Linked DNA regions of Homo sapiens: region 1 is linked to region 2. The links are contacts of gene promoters, found by promoter capture Hi-C in blood cells and fetal thymus (Javierre and others, 2016). All regions are on one chromosome and are shown on one strand. Each heading gives the region's core, a stretch centred on a gene start or on the middle of the fragment in contact. The rest is flanking DNA. Distances are from core to core; before and after follow the strand shown. Region 1 overlaps FAM53A (family with sequence similarity 53 member A). Region 2 holds the start of RNF212 (ring finger protein 212).

The links. The method cuts DNA at HindIII sites, captures the fragments that hold promoters and counts their contacts. A CHiCAGO score of 5 or more calls a contact.
Region 1: a fragment that was not itself captured here is called in contact with the fragment with the promoter of RNF212 in region 2 in 1 of 17 cell types (erythroblasts); the score reaches 5.5 in erythroblasts.

The regions. Positions count from the first base shown.
Region 1 is chr4:1,646,307-1,649,190 of GRCh38, reverse strand. All of the region lies in intron 4 of FAM53A (family with sequence similarity 53 member A), which reads left to right. Among named protein-coding and RNA genes, the nearest start is that of FAM53A, 37 kb to the left of the region's middle. RefSeq lists an enhancer at 1,472-1,973. The HindIII fragment of the contact is 1,840 bases long and covers 465-2,304 here.
Region 2 is chr4:1,111,955-1,114,880 of GRCh38, reverse strand. It overlaps RNF212 (ring finger protein 212), which reads left to right and starts at 1,317. Exons shown (of 10, transcript NM_001131034.4): 1 at 1,317-1,525. The coding sequence starts at 1,417. It overlaps LOC124900647 (nascent polypeptide-associated complex subunit alpha, muscle-specific form-like), which reads right to left and starts at 1,242. Exons shown (of 3, transcript XM_047416477.1): 1 at 1,129-1,242. It overlaps LOC105374344 (a long non-coding RNA gene), which reads right to left and starts at 1,242. Exons shown (of 3, transcript NR_134676.1): 1 at 1,129-1,242. The HindIII fragment of the contact is 6,439 bases long and covers 1-2,926 here.

The DNA of each region.
Region 1 (2,884 bases), core at 135-2,634, 530 kb before region 2:
CCCTTCCCCTTCCCTTTCCCTTTCCCCTTCCCTTTCCCCTTCCCTTTCCCCTTCCCCTTCCCCTTCCTCTTCCCTTTCCCTTTCTGTTTTGCTCTTGTTGCCCACGCTGGACTGCAGTGGCATGATCTCAGCTCAGTGCAACCTCTGCCTCCCAGATTCCAGAGATTCTCCTGCGTCAGCTTCCCAAGTGTCTGGGATTGTAGGCGCCCACCACCACACCTGGCTAATTTTTGTATTTTTAGTAGAGATGGGGTTTCACCATATTGGCCAGGCTGGTCTTGAACTCTTGGCCTCAGGTAATCCGCCTGCCTTGGCCTCACAAAGTGCTGGGATTACAGGCGTGAGCCACCACTCCCGGCTTGCCCCGTTTTCTTCAGTGACTTTGTTAATGAGCCAGAACAGTGATGTGGGTGCTGCACACCCCATTCTGCTCCTGGGACTCAACCTCACCTGAAATAAAAGCTTTTCGTTTATTTGCTTCATGTGGGGGCCAGGTAATACCTGCCCGCCCTGAAGTGTGCATTGCCTTAAATTCAGCCGCTTTGGTCTGCTTGCTCACGAGTGTCTTCAGTGTGACCGTAGTCATCGCTTTCTGGTAAAAAGGTTTGTGGGGAGAGGGCCTCATCAAATGTCAGGAAAGCCCCTGAGGAGACAGGCAGTGTCTTCAGGGGCCACGTCTGCAAACCCAGAGCCCTCCTGACCGCGGCTGCAGAGGACAGTGCCAAGACTCCTGAGGGGCCAGGGCTGCCTGCTCTCCCTCTTTCCAGCTCTTTGCTCATCCCACCCAAAAACTGGCTCCCACCTTTCTCTGTGTCCCTCATCTGCCGTCTGTGTGCCCCTCTCCCTGTCAGCCAACCAGTCTTCACCCACACCCACCTACCCCTGCCTGCACCGCATCACCTGAATATGTGGCACCTTTGGTGAACACTTGGCCCCCAGCCTGGGTTACCTGTCAGTTCCTGGTTTTGTTTTGTTTTTTGGAGACAGGGTCTCTCTCTCTGTTGCCCTGGCTGGAGTGTAGTGGTATAATCACAGCTCACTGCAGTCTCCATCTCCTGGACCCAGGTGATCCTCCCACCTCAGCCTCCTAAGTAGCTGGGACCACAGGTGCACACTCCTGTGCCCAGCTAATATTCTCAATTTTTTAAGAGACAGAGCCTTACTATGTTGTCCAAGTTGGTCTCAAATTCCTGGGCTCAAGCCATCTTCCTGCCTCACCTCCCAAAGTGCTGGGATTGCAGGCGTGCGCCACCAGGCCCAGGCTTTGCCACTTCCTGTTTGTGTCAAGCTCCTCTCCACCTCAGGGCCAAAAAGAAATGCTCTGATTTTCCTCTACAACTTTTATAATTGTGTGTTACCGGACAATTAGTCCTGACTCTGGGTGGGCACACACACATACCCACCATGCACACTCACCCCCACGCTTATGTGCACACTCAGGTGCACACTCCCACTCATGTGCACACTCCCACTCATGTGCACCGCTGCATGCTCACGCTCGCTCACATCCGCACCCCGGCTGTGCTGTGCTTGCACCTGGCGGACTCGGTATGCGCAGCCCAGCTCTAGTCCGGCGTCCCTGGCGTGTGTTGTGCAGTCTGCGTGCGCAACTGTGTTCACCCTGCAGGGCTCCTATGTCGGGGCTTATCAGTGGGACCGTTCGGCGATCATCCTCAACCCCCCGCCACCCCCTGCTGTCTGCTCTGAGTCTAGGCTCACACCAGCTTCCCCAGGTGTCAGAGGGCTGCTCTCTGAGCAGGGTGCAGGGGCACTGCCTTCCCTGCCTTTCCCTTGGAAACAGTGCATGTTTTCCTAGGAAAACATTTAGGATTTTCTGCTTTTTTTTTTTTTTTCCCGAGATGGAGTCTCGCTCTGTCACCCGGGCTGGAGTGCAATGGTGCCATCTCGGCTAACTGCAACCTCTGCCTCCCAGGTTCAAGCGATTCTCTGCCTCAGTCTCCTGAGTAGCTGGGATTACAGGTGCCTGCCACCATGCCTGGCTAATTTTTTGTATTTTTAGTAGAGAGGGGGTTTCACTATGTTGGCCATGCTGGTCTCGAACTCTAGACCTCAGGAAATCCACCCACCTCAGCCTCCCAAAGTGCTGGGATTACAGGCATAAGCCACCATGCCCGGCTTTTACTGGCGAAGCTACTTTTTCTGTTTTTATTGGCAAAGCTATGTTTCAAAGTTGAAATTAAAATATGACCATTGAAAATATGCACATCAGTTATGGTTCCAGCAGAGTGTGGAAGCAGCTGCTGGTTTCTATAAAAGCGTGTGCTTTTAGGGCTTTGAAAAGCTTTTGCCACGTAGAGAAGGCGCTCAGCTGCCTCTGGAGAGACCGAGGCTGCTGCAGAGAAAGAAACAGCTTCCTATGTGGCCCTGCAGCTGGGTCACCCAGAGCCTGAGGAGTTCTTCAGACAGGCAGGCAGCTTTGGGGCCAGCAGTTACATCATGGGCTAGAACCTAAGGACAAGCTAGAGGTGCATGTGGCCGTGTTCACACCTTCAGGCCCGCTGCGTTTTTGGAGGTCTTGGGTTTAGTGAGCAGATGGTGCCTTCCGCGGCCTCAGTCACGAGAGCGCAAGGCTTGTCCTCCATGGGGGGGCCTCTGCTGCACCTGCTGAGCTGTTTTCTCTGTGCCTCCTGGGTGAAAATTGAAAAACCAAAAGCTTTGAGCAGCTCCTGGTACCAAGAAAAGGACTGACTTAGTTTGTTTTTGCTGCTGTAACAAAATACCCCCGACGACGTCACTTATAAATAAGAGAAATGTATTTCTCAAGAGTTCTGGGCTGGGCACAGTGGCTCACGCCTGTAATCCCAGCACTTTGGGAGGCCGAGGTGGGCAGATCATGAGGTCAGGAGATCGAGACCATCCTGGC
Region 2 (2,926 bases), core at 68-2,567:
GCTGGTCTTGCTATTTTAAACTTGGTAGAGATCAGCACTGTCTAACAGAAATAAAAGTGGGCTACATACATAATTCTAATTTGCTGTTGTTGTTGTTGAGACGAAGTCTCACTCTGTTGCCCAGGCTGGAGTGCAGTGGTGTGATTTCGGCTCACTGCAACCTCCGCCTCGTTCAAGCGATTCTCCTGCCTCAGCCTCCGGAGTAGCTGGGATTACAGGCGTGAGCTACCGCACCCAGCCCATACGTAATTCTAAGTTTTCTAGTCTCCACATTGAAAAGGATTTTTTGAAAGGGTAAAATCAACGCTACTGATATATATTTAACCTAATATATCAAAAATATCATGTTAACATGTAATCAATATAAAATTACTAAGAAGGTTTTCATACGAGGCCCTGGAAACAGCTGTATTTTACTCACATCTTTCGGGGCGCAGGGGTCACTTGGCCCGTAGCTACCGGGAGCGCTCACCCTGCGCTCTCCCGGCACAAGCACTTGCCTGAGCCTCTCGATCCGAGCTTTGCAGCGTCCCAGCGGGTGGAAACTCTCAAAACCACGCAGAGGACAATTTTATAAAAAGTCACTTCCCCATGCTGGAACCTGGAAGCAGCAGAGGTCCTTCCCGAGCTACGCCTTCCGTTTCAGAGGGAAGCAGGCTCAGGCCTCCCGTGCTGAGGTCTCTGCGCCAGCGGCCACCTGGACACTAGTCCCAAAGCGTGCAGCGCGGCCTGGCCCCCACCCCCAACTGCCCCCCCCACCCCCACCGCCTCATCACACCCCACCCCCACCGCCTCACGCCCCCACACCCACCCCAACTCCCACATCCCCACTCCCGCTCCCACCCCAACTCCCACACCCACTTATCCCTCCCTCCCTCCTATCCCGCTCCCCGGGCCCCCAGGGCCCCCACGCCCACTCTCCCCTACTCCTCCCCTGCCTCGCCCAGCGCACTACCCTGGCCGCCCTGGCCTCCGGCCCAGCTCCCGGCCCTCAAGGTGGGCCTGGCCCGCATCCCCCGCCCTCGGCGCTCCCCCTCCCCCTCCCCCACTGCTGTCGCGCCGCGACGCCTCCTCAGCGCAGCCGCCATTCCCCGCGCCCGCCACCCAGGCCCGGCTTCCACAAAACACCTGAGGACCGCCAAGACAGGGGCGGGACGTTGGTGCTCGCGGTGCGTTCCTCCGCCTACTCCAGCCCAAACGACCTGGGAGACGAGTCACACGCGCCCTCCCAGGTGCTGCGGGAGAACCCGCGAGGTTGGCGGGAGGGCGCGAGCTCCAGTGCGCGGGCGCAGGGCTGCCGTCGACTTTGCGCAGGCGCAGAGCTGCCCGCCTTCGGGCCCTGCGCGGGGAGGCTGGTCCCAACCTTGCGTGGGCTTCGCGTGGGCCCGGCCTCGCCGCTGCGGTCGCCCGCCTGGCATGGCCAACTGGGTGTTCTGTAATCGCTGCTTCCAGCCGCCCCACAGGACGTCGTGCTTCAGCCTCACCAACTGCGGGCACGTGTACTGCGACGCCTGCCTCGGCAAAGGTCAGGGCTTCCCGAACGCAGGCTGGAGAGGGGAGGGGAGCGGCAAGGGGGTCAGGGAACTCCGGGGGATGGGGGACTTGGGTGGGAGGGCCATGGGGGCACGTGGGGGGCTGCGGAGGAGAGAGGGCGCGTGGAGAAGGGGGAGGGGGCAGGGGGAGGGGGATGCCAGGGGAGAGGCCGCGAGGAGCAGGGGAACTCTGAGGGGAGGGGGACCTGGGGTGGAGGGGCCGCGGGGGCGCGTGGGGGGCCGAGGGGGAGAAACGGCGCATGGAGCGGGGGGGGCATGGGGGGGTGAGAGGCCGCGGAGGTAGGGGTATTCGGAGGAGGGGCCACCGGGGAGTGGGGGCCGCGGGCGTGATGAGGGGCCCGTGGGGAGAGGGGGACACTGGAGAAGCGGTGGGGAGGGAGCGGGGGAGTGAGGGGCTGCGGGAGGGTGGGGAAAGAGGGGACGCCGGAGGTGGTGGGGGGCTGCAGGGAGGAAGGGGACGCCAGAGGAGGGGGGCAAGGTGGGGGATGTGGGGGGTCAAGGCTTGGGGGGGAAGGGGGATACCGAGGAGATGGGGGGAGGGGAGACGCCAGGGGAGGAGGGCGTGGGGGAGGGTCCGCAGGCAGGAAGGGGCCGTGGAGGGGAGGGGCCGCCGGGGGGAGCGGGATGCAAGATGAGGGGGACACAGGGGTCGGGCCACGAGTCCTGTCAGTCGGGGGCTCTGGCTTGCAGGCTGCGGGTCCGCCTGGAGGACCTGGGGGAGAAGCGGGCAGGCGGCAACCTTAACGCCAGTGGAGGACTCTGGCCCTATTCCATGGGCAGCGCGGGGCCCTGGTGTCAAGTGGACAGTCGCATTGTCAGGGAGGCGTTTTTCTTTCTGTGAAAATTTTGTGTTGAACTGATGTTTATGCAAGAACAAAAGCAAAAACACAGTGAGCTTTTACCAAGCGAACTTCCCCGTGAAAGCAGCCAGCTGGGTGCCGGTGGCTCACAGCCCTCCAGCCCCAGGGGACGCCAGCTGTGCTGACCTCCATCCTCGGAGTTGGCCTTAGACCCATGGAGCCTTAGTGAATGCAGCCCTACAACCAGCCCTACAGCAAAGCCGCTTTCTGTGGCTCCCCATCTTTCTTCCTTTTTCTCCCTTCCTTCTCTTTGCCTCTTTCAAGGCAGAGCTCAGCTTTGTCGCCCAGGCTGGAGTTCGGTGGCGGGATCTCGGTTTACTGCAGCCTCCGCCTCCCAGGCTCAAGTGATTCTCCTACCTCAGCCTCCAGGGTAGCGGGGCTACAGGCATGTGCAGCCACGCACCCCTGATTTTTTTAATTTTTCACAGAGATGGGGTCCCTTTGTTGCCCAGGATGGTCTCCAATTCCTGTCCTCTAACAATCACCGGCCTTGGCCTCCCGAAATGTGGGATT